Regions from separate parts of the Homo sapiens genome. Here regions 1 and 3 are each linked to region 2. Evidence: promoter capture Hi-C in human tissues and cell types (Jung and others, 2019). All regions are on one chromosome and are shown on one strand. Each heading gives the region's core, a stretch centred on a gene start or on the middle of the fragment in contact. The rest is flanking DNA. Distances are from core to core; before and after follow the strand shown. Region 1 holds the start of ZSCAN32 (zinc finger and SCAN domain containing 32). Region 2 holds the start of ZSCAN10 (zinc finger and SCAN domain containing 10). Region 3 overlaps ELOB (elongin B).

What was found. The method cuts DNA at HindIII sites, captures the fragments that hold promoters and counts their contacts. A contact is called where the count stands out against the background at its distance.
Region 1: a contact is called between the fragment with the promoter of ZSCAN32 here and the fragment with the promoter of ZSCAN10 in region 2, in 3 of the 25 tissues and cell types used here (dorsolateral prefrontal cortex, spleen and thymus).
Region 3: a contact is called between a fragment that was not itself captured here and the fragment with the promoter of ZSCAN10 in region 2, in 1 of the 25 tissues and cell types used here (dorsolateral prefrontal cortex).

The regions. Positions count from the first base shown.
Region 1 is chr16:3,399,329-3,402,515 of GRCh38, forward strand. It overlaps ZSCAN32 (zinc finger and SCAN domain containing 32), which reads right to left and starts at 1,676. Exons shown (of 7, transcript NM_001284527.2): 1 at 1,617-1,676. It overlaps ZNF174 (zinc finger protein 174), which reads left to right and starts at 1,887. Exons shown (of 3, transcript NM_003450.3): 1 at 1,887-3,078. The coding sequence starts at 2,677. LOC105371059 (a long non-coding RNA gene) reads left to right here. Exons shown (of 4, transcript XR_007064949.1): 3 at 1-198; 4 at 303-341. RefSeq lists silencers at 1,314-1,463, 2,014-2,233 and an enhancer at 1,437-1,936. The HindIII fragment of the contact is 10,964 bases long and covers 1-3,187 here.
Region 2 is chr16:3,097,513-3,100,716 of GRCh38, forward strand. ZSCAN10 (zinc finger and SCAN domain containing 10) reads right to left here and starts at 1,782. Exons shown (of 6, transcript NM_032805.3): 1 at 1,678-1,782. RefSeq lists an enhancer at 2,535-2,584 and a silencer at 2,745-2,804. The HindIII fragment of the contact is 18,144 bases long and covers 271-3,204 here.
Region 3 is chr16:2,772,258-2,775,266 of GRCh38, forward strand. All of the region lies in intron 3 of ELOB (elongin B), which reads right to left. Among named protein-coding and RNA genes, the nearest start is that of ELOB, 3.5 kb to the right of the region's middle. RefSeq lists a silencer at 812-964. The HindIII fragment of the contact is 3,004 bases long and covers 1-2,766 here.

The sequences.
Region 1 (3,187 bases), core at 426-2,925, 300 kb after region 2:
TTCTCAGATTTTACATGAGAGGTAGGGAAAGCTCTTCATTTTCTAGGAATTGGTAAATTGGGCAAATGTAAGATCAGAGTTGTCTCCAACTATGTCCCACTCTCTACTCCACTCTTCCATCACAGGAGTGAGCCTGTTTACAAGAGGACAATATACTCAAGTCTTGACAACATGTTTGGATCTCCAAGGCCAGTTTATGTAAGGCAATATTTTTTTAAGAGTTAATTTTAAAAATAGTTTTATATAATTTAAAATTAATAAATAACTTTTAAAAATAATTTTATTTGTTTTTTTATCTTTAGAGATGGAGTCTCACTCTGTTGCCCAGGCTGGTCTCAAACTCCTGAACTCAAGCAATCCTCCCACCTCAACCTCCCAAAGTGTTAGGATTACAAGTATAAGCCACCATGCCCGACCTTAAAAATAATTTTAAATAGAAGCTAACTTTTGTATTTTTTGTAGAGGTGGAGTTTCACTATGTTGCCCAGGCTGGTCTCAAACTCCTGTGCTCAAGTGATCCTCCCACCTTGGCCTCCCAAAGTGCTGGGATTACAGGTGTGAGCCACTGCACCCGCGAAGGCAGTCTTTTTTAATGAGTTTGTGTTGGTTTTTATCTACTTAAAACACAGATTAAAGCAGATCGTAATTTACATTTTCTCCAGGGGCTGATACACCCTCACCATGTGGTATTAAAATGGATCCAGCATGCACAACAAGATGAATATACTCAGGACTACTGAGCTGTACACTTAAAAATGGTTATGATGGTAAATGTTTTTTAAAAATTAAAGAAATTTTTTTATATTTTAAAAATGGATTTGGGTTCCCTTTTCTCAAGGAACTTGAACTGCCTTCACTTAAATTCTCTTTACATTTCAGTGCTTCTAGAGATAGAGAAATCAAGGGCATTATTATTGTTAGCACTGCTTTCTAGCCAAAAAGAAACTGAGAGCGATGAAGTATCTTGCCTAAAGCATCACACAGCACAGCTCCTAGGCAGCAAGGCCAGGACTAGAACCAGCACCCCTTGCCTTCATTATGTTCATCCTGTGCCTTACCTGGCTGAAGAAGAATTTAATAAAAGCTCTTCTAACTTCATGCAGAAGGCGGAACCTGCACCCTTCTTGACCCCTTTTGACCCCTTACCTCCCACTCATCGTTAAATTTTAAAATGCTGTTCTCTGAAAATTTTACTTCACTCTAGCGATGGCCCAAACACTCGGAAAAAAATGTAGCATGAGGATGGGGAGCCAGGTTGATAGGTTTTTCACTTAGTTAACTATTTATTGAGTACTCAGAACGCACTCGGTGCCAGGGCTAGGCACTGTGGATGAGTAGGGAGTGGGCGAGACAGGGACGAGATGAGCAGGGTCAAGGCCAGGGGGTCCCGGGGCGCCGGCGCTCAGGCTCGGGGTGATCCGCACGGTGGGAGCGGGGCACGGTGATCGCGGCGCGTCTGGGGACGCCCGGCCTGAGGGAGGCTGCCTGTCCCAAGGAGACGCCCATCGGGGCCGGACCCGAACGCCTCGGAGAAGACTCCCAGCGGGGAGGGGCTCCTCGGCCGTCGCAGGGCCCAGCGGCTAATCCCGCCGGCCGCAAGGAAGCGGAGAACTCACCGGACACCAGCACTCGCGACTCCACAAACTCCCTCAGCCTCCGGGCCGGAAGTCAGCGGCGCGATTCGCTCCGCCCATTACGCACGCCCCTGCGCAGGCCCGCAAGCCGAATTGCCGGACTGCAGCTCCCGGGATGCACTGCGACGGTATTGACAGGCGCAGCAACCAATAGACGGTAGAGAATGCCCTTGGCAGGAGGCGGGCCCTGTCAGTAGTTGTCCTCAGCAGCTAGTGGGCGTCTCCGCAGCGAGTGGCATCGGCCCCGCCCCCAGCCCGTGCTCGCCGGTGTCGGGTCCTAAGTCCCTCGGTCTTGGGTTCCCGGAGAGGTGAGTCGGCTGCAGGTGGGTGCGGGGCGCCGGGCTGTTCGGGGTACCGGTGTCGCAGTCGCCAGTCCGAGCTCACACCGGGCGTGGAGTTCAGCTGCGCATCGGGTTGCGGCAGCTTCGCCAGGCCTGGGGCTGGCTGGGCCGCGGGGCCGCCCTGGAGGCCGGAGCCACTGGGCCTGCGGCGCCTCGGCAGCGAGCAGCCGCTTTGCTCGCGTGCAGGAGGCTGTTCGCTACCTCACACCCCCGGCTGGCGCTGTGGCCTCGCTTAGCTCTACCGTTTAGCACCCGGCGACATGCACCCGGTCGGTTTCCGCCAGGATGCGGGAGAGTTGGGGCAAGCTACCTGCGACAGCTTGAACTTTTCCTAGGGATTCCGCTCCACCCGCCGGTTAGAGCGTATTGCTCATTAAATCCGAGACCTGTGTGCTTGCTACTGAAATAAAAGAAGTATTTTTTCCCCAGAGTCCTTTTAGGACGTTATGACTTTTCTCCTTTGCAAGACTGCAAAAAACTGACAAGAAGACAAAACTCTTCCCACTCCCAGGGACCGCGTTGTCTTGAGTTTGGCTAGTAAAGGCTAGCAAGTGAGGCTTTGTCTCTGCATCCCGTTCCCCCTAACATCCTCAGAGAACCTTCGTTTCTAGAATCTTTCTAGTATTCAGAGACTTCTCCAGGGTCATGATCCCAAAGGCTTAACCCGTTTACAAGGAGAGAGTTGTCTCCTGACGCCCAAAATGGCAGCTAAAATGGAGATAACTTTAAGCTCCAACACTGAAGCTTCCTCCAAGCAAGAGAGACACATAATAGCCAAACTAGAAGAGAAACGGGGCCCTCCTCTGCAAAAAAACTGCCCAGATCCTGAGCTCTGCCGCCAGAGCTTCAGACGCTTTTGTTATCAAGAGGTGTCTGGACCCCAAGAGGCTCTCTCCCAGCTCCGACAGCTCTGCCGTCAGTGGTTGCAACCCGAGCTGCACACCAAGGAGCAGATTTTGGAGCTTCTGGTGATGGAGCAGTTCCTGACCATCCTGCCCCCGGAGATCCAGGCTCGGGTCAGGCATCGATGTCCAATGAGCAGCAAGGAGATTGTGACCCTCGTGGAAGATTTTCACAGAGCATCCAAGAAACCAAAGCAGTGGGTAAGGAGGGTCCTCTCCCATCATCCTGGGGATTTCTTTTTCTTTTCTTTTTTTTTTTTTTTCTTTTTTTGAGACGGAATCTTGCTCTTTCGCCCAGGCCCGAGTGCAG
Region 2 (3,204 bases), core at 532-3,031:
AGGGTGGGGCCAGATAAGCGAAGACAAAGTGAGAAATCCAGATTTCAACCCCTGCATGTGTGAGAGTGTAACCACCCCCGAGCCGGAACTACGCTTTCCTGCCCTCTGGCATCCACTCCAGGCAGCCCCCATCCTCCCACCCCATCTCTCCCCACTAGGGCGATGGAGTGCCTCAATCACAGATGAGCGTATTTCTCTGCCTGGCCTGGGAGTAGGAGCTGTGTCTAGTTCAATGAGTGTTCATCCAGCACTTGAAGTTGCTTCAGTGTCTGTTAGCAGAAATTAGGGAATGGCAGTGATTCTGGCCATCTCGAAGGAAAGCATGTAACAACGTCTAGGACAGAAAAAGTCTGTGATAAATGATCAGAAAAATGGTGTTGTGAGGCCGGATGCGGTGGCTCATGCTTATAATCCCAGCATTTTGGGTGGCCAAGGCAGAAGGATTGCTTGAACCTGGGGGGTCAAAGCTGCAGTGAGCCATGTTCGCGCCACTGCACACCAGCCTGGATAAAAGGCGAAGACCCTGTCTCAAAAAAAAAAAAAAAAAAAAGAAAGAAAGAAAGAAAAGAAAAGAAAAGAAAAAAAAAGAGTGGGGGAGGGGGAAGAAAATGGGATTACGTTTCACTGGTTTTTAGTAGCATGCACAAAATAACAAGAAAACTAATCACTGCTCATCCATTGCCGTGCAGGAGCAGCGGGCAGGTACTGAGTGTCTGGCGATTAAGCTCATTTCATCCCAGTCCAGCCCACGCACGAAACAATCACTTCTCCCTTTGCCAAGTGCAAAGACCAAGCTTTGCACTTGGTGACATGCTCAGGGTCACACCAGGTGGAGCCAAGGTTTGCTTTAGGCTGAGAGTGTAGGTCTAGAACACAGTGCCAAAGCTCTGAAACAGAAAAGGAACTGATCTCCATCCTGCTCTGTGCCATTTTCCTAGCCTTAGCCGAAATATCACAGCATGAAACAGAAAAAAAATGAAGATTCCAAATTTCAGCTCTCAGGGCAAGCCACACAGGGAGGCCGGAATCTCCAGGTGAGATCTCTCCAAAAGGTTTCAAAGAGGTGGAATTCGAGACAAGTTGGCTTCAGAGAATCTCTCCCTCCCCCCAGATCTCCAGGACAAAAGCTCTGTTAATATGCACCTCTGTTGGGGGTGGGCTGGGTAGGGAGGCAGGCAGAGGCTCTACAGCCACCATCCAACATTTGAGCAGCTTAATTTGGAGCCCGGGGTGGAGGTGCTGCCACGAGACCCACCCAGGTCACCTGAGAGCCCAGAGTTGGGGAAGGCGGCAAAGGTGGGGTCCTCAGCCGGGAACACTCCCTTTCTCCCTGGACACAGTTGGCAGCTGCCTGATTTGTTGTTTGTTGGAGGGGCCTCCCTCCGCGTGCTGGGCTGAGTGGACAAGGCCCATCAGTCCACCTGGGAGCACGTGAAGCCAGCCTTCTTCAATGTCACAGGAAGTTCTGCGATCTCCCTCGTCCCCAACGCCCCCATCGCGACAGGTCCACCAAGCTGGCTGGCACGAGGCTCCCCAGCAGACCCTCTACATCCTCCCAAGACTCTTCCAGCCCCCACCCCAGCACCAAGGCCTGGAGCCTCCCCTGCTCTCTCCAAGCTGCTGCGAGCTCCTAGCACCCGTCCTGGCAGCCTGCACCCCGACCTCCCTCCAACTCACCACTCGGAGTCCCCACTACACAGGCAGAGATGCTGGGGGGTTTTCTGAGGACTCCAGGGCCAAAGCCAGCCTCCGCCAGCCTGGGGAAGGGCTCTGGGAAAATGGAACAGGAAGTTCCTTGCCCCAGTCCCATCCCATCCAGGTGATGAGGGGCTTCCTAGAGTTAACCCTTAAGCTCCCAGTTTGGGAGCGGGATGGGAAGAGGGCGGGGCCAGTGACATGAAGACAAAGTGAGAAATCCAGATTTCAATCCCAGCCTGTGTGAGAGTGTAACCACCTCCCAAATCAAGACTGGCCTGGTGCCCCTTGCAGGTCTGCCCGTCTTTCCTTTGGGCTAAGAGCTGCCATTTTTAAATGCCCACAGTGTGCTGGCTTCTTTGCTAGGCTTTTCATTCACGTGACTACTCTTTGCAATGGCCTCCTGTGTGCCAGGCACTGTTACAAAGCAGGGGCTAAGGACACAGAGAGAAACTGAAGGAATGAGGCCCTGCTCTCAGGGGCTTACATTCTAGGGCAAAGGAGCAGCGACGGTGCTAGGAAAAAATGGAAGAGGAGGATGTGATGGGGCAGAGTTTGCTCCATCTACACGGTCACCTAAAGTCCTCCCAAGTCCTGCCAGGTGGCTTTTGTCCCAACTTTACCGATGACGAAGCAAGGGCTCCCCGGGAGGGAAGTGACCTAACCAACAGCGTTTGGCCCCAAACTAATTCCATCCCTGTGCTTAAGGTGCCTTCTTGGGTTGTGCCCTTGGCTGCAGCTGGTGCCTTCCTGAGCGTTCTGAGCCCCCGGGGAGCCAGGACCACCTCTCAGGTGTTGGCCGTTCCCCCGGCCTAGACCCCTCGGTCCGTTGGGGCCAGGACCCTCCTGACTGGCTCATCTGACGGGTCTTTGTTTTCCTGCACTTAACACCTGAGCTCATCCTGTTCCTACTTCAGTTGTCTAGTGCTCCCTTCGTACGACGGTCTTTCTCCTTGGTCTGCTCTGCATTCCCCGCGTCCCGCGCCTCGCTCTCCCAGTCGCGGGCTCCTCCCACTCCATAGTTTGTTCAGGGGCGGGGCCAGAAAACCCCGCCCCCAGGGAAGTGGGCCTGAAGGCCAAGGGGCGGGGCGGGGTTCTGTAGGGACGGAGGGGGCGTGTCCGGGGCGGGGCGGGGTGCTGTAGCGCCGGAGCGGGTGTGGCCTTGGCGGGACCAGGCAGCCATTACAGTCTCGGAAGCGAGAGGCGTGGGGCCTGTCTCATCATGCCCGGTTCATTTTTTTTTTTTTTTTTTTTTTTGTAGAGATGGGGTTTCATCATTTTGGCCAGGCTAGTCTTGAACTCCTGAACTCAGGTGATCCACCTGCCTTGGCCTCCCAAAGTGCTGGGATTACAGGCATGAGCCACCGCACTCAGCCTCTTTAATCACCTGAGGTCAGGAGTTCAAGACTAGCCTGGACAACATGGTGAAACCCCATCTCTACTAAAAATTTTTGTTTCTTTTAAAATTGTAATTTTCCCAATTCCACTTATTTTATTTTATTAGAGACA
Region 3 (3,009 bases), core at 15-2,514, 330 kb before region 2:
AGCTACCCCCGTGGCCCCACGGTAATGTCTCCTACCCCTGTGGGCCCAACCTGAAGGTCCCCAGCCCTTCCCACTGACCATGCTGGGGCCCCTTTCCTCATCTTCCATGTCCACTAGTGAGTCTGAGGGCTCACCATCTGCAGCCAGCATCACCCTTCACCCAGAATATATCTCCTTGTTCCCTTCACACACTTTGGGAGGCCGAGACGGGCAGATCATGAGGTCAGGAGGTCAAGACCATCCTGGCTAGCACGGTGAAACCCCATCTCTACTAAAAATACAAAAAAAAAAAAAAAAAAAAAATTAGCCGGGCATGGTGGCGGGCACCTACAGTCCCAGCTTCTCGGGAGGCTGAGGCAGGAGAATGACGTGAACCCGGGAGGCGGAGCTTGCAGTAGCTGAGATCGCGCCACTGCACTCCAACCTGGGCGACACAGACTCCATCTCAAAAAAAAAAAATCAAACTAGACTATCTAGACTATTCCTCCCCTGCTGAAAACCATCCAGTGGCTTCCCATCATGACCTGAATACCACCAAGTCCTTGCCGTCTGTCTCTCCCTCTGCTTCCCACGCTCTGAGGCTCTGGCTCTCTATGTTCTTCTGTAAGTTCTTTCCTAACTCAGACCTTCGCACTTGCTGGTCCCAGCACTCGGAATGGCTGGCTGCTTCTGGACTTTCAGGGTCCAACTCAGGTCACCTCCTCAGATGAACCTCCAGTCCACGCACCCCCAAAAGTCAAGACATCCTGACACTCTGGGCGTAGGGGCACTTACCACTGGACAAACTGCCCTTTTGACTGGCTCCAGGAAGGCAAAGGCCTTCCCTGTCTTGTCCCTACTGTCACCCCAACACACAGCAAACAAACCCACAGCTTTTCTCCTGTGCTTTCTTCCAGCTAGGAGACCCATCTCTGCTTGGCTCAGGGTTCTCAACTGATCAGGCATCCCAGGGAAAGCTGGAATGCCTGATCACAGTTGTGGCGGTCACAAATGGGGAGGTGGGGTGCCCCAGCGCTATCTAGTGGGTAGAGGCCTGGGATACGGCTCCACGTGCTATGGTGCACAAGGCAACCCACACAGCAATCCAGCCCAATGTGCCCACTGTGCCGAGGTTCAGAAACTAATCCATCTTCCAAGCCACAAACCTGTGACAATTCGTGCCTTCACTACCTCCCTCATTCTTTTGTGATGAGCCGGGACAATGCCCTTTAACATTTGATTTGAAATACTCATCTCCTTGAGTGGTAAGCTTGGGGGAGGGGAGAGGCGGAGGGTGGGGCACCCATTCAAGGCCTGGGAACAACATGATGATGGGTTGAGCTGCACCCAGAAGTGTGTTTCTGCAAGCATTCCATGGGGAAGCAAAGAGCTGACAGCCCATGCTGTGCCCCCTATCAAGACAGCCATCACCTGCAAGAGGGATGATGTGACCTGGGCTCCGGAGTCACCACCACATTCCATGCCATATTAGGGGTTGTGGGAGAAAAACAAGTCACCTTCCTTAGCCTTGATTTTCTCATCTGCAAAATGGGTCTATCAGTATCTTCCAAGTCACAGCAAACCTCTAGGGGTACCACTGTTGAAATTAGAGAAAGGGACACTTCTGGGGGAACACAGCCCAGCTTCGGTTCACGAAGCAGACCAGATATGCTCTTGGCACTCCCTTGCTCTCTTCAGACAGGCACCCCTGGGCCAGGCACCGAGGCTCAGGCCTGTAATCCCAGCACTTTGGGAGGCTGGGATGTATGGATCGCCTGAGGTCAGGAGATTGAGACCAGCCTGACTAACATGGTGAAACCCCATCTCTACTAAAAACACAAAGATTAGCTGGGCGTGGTGGCACATGCCTGTAATCCCAGCTCCTCAGGCCACTGAGGCAAGAGAATCGCTTGAACCCGGGAGGCAGCGGCTGCAGTGGGCTGAGATGGCGCCACTGCACTCCAGCCTAGACAACGGAGTGCGACTCTGTCTCAGAAACAACAACAACAAAAATGCACCCATGTACAAGGCACGACCTGTGTCTATGCCAGCCCTGCACCTGACTCTTAACATCACCATCTGGGCAGAAAGAGCCCACAGAAAGGCTCTGAAGCTTCCCATCTGTTGGGCACTGGCAGCAGGCCAGACCTGGGGTGCATGAGGACTCAACACCACCTTGCTGTGAAGCCAGTCTCATCACACCCCTTTAAGGAGAAGGGAACACTGGGGCCAGGAGGGGCAGGAGGGCAAGGTAGCTGGCCAGAGGATATAGCTGCTGAGACTGAGGCCTAGCCTGAACTTATGGAACGGAAAGGTGGAGCTAGGACTCTACTCTTCCTCTTCAGCCTTTGCTATGTTCCCTTACAGGCAGAAAAATAAGAATTCCTTACAACTTTATCCAAGTTTTCTCAGCCATCCACACAGCTGCTGGGTCCACAGCTGTGAAAACACAGCTCTATAACCTCTCTTCAAGTTCCTAGAGACAAAATATTTTAAATCTCCCCTCCCTTTCTCTTGGGTGGAAGAAGATATCTTGGCGAGTAGTAAACCACTCCCTAATCCCCAGGTTTCTAAAGCTTGGGCAGGGGTGGGGTATGGCTGATGGAAGCCCAGGCTCTGGATCTGAATCCTAGATGTGGCAGTCCCAGCAGATGACCTAACCTCCCCAGGCTCACTTTACTGAACCTGAAAACTGGCAAAATCCAAATCTCAGCCACACAGAGATGCAGAGGGTTTCGGTGATACATAGCATAGAGCCTGGTATGATGTCTGACTCCAGCAAGGGCCCGGCAGTCAGCATCCTAACCGTGGCTCCCTACGTGACTGCTGGTAAGCCTGTGTCCTCATCTGCAGAACACGGATGATGGTATGTGGACTTCCCAGGGCTACTGAGAGGATGAGACAGGGCAGTGGAAGCCACACACAGAGTAACATGCAGAGCACGGAGCCAGGCACTCACTCAGCCTCCTGTAAATGTGAGCTGGCTTCACAAAATAAGCTTTGGTTTCTGTAAGCATCTCATTTGGTTGC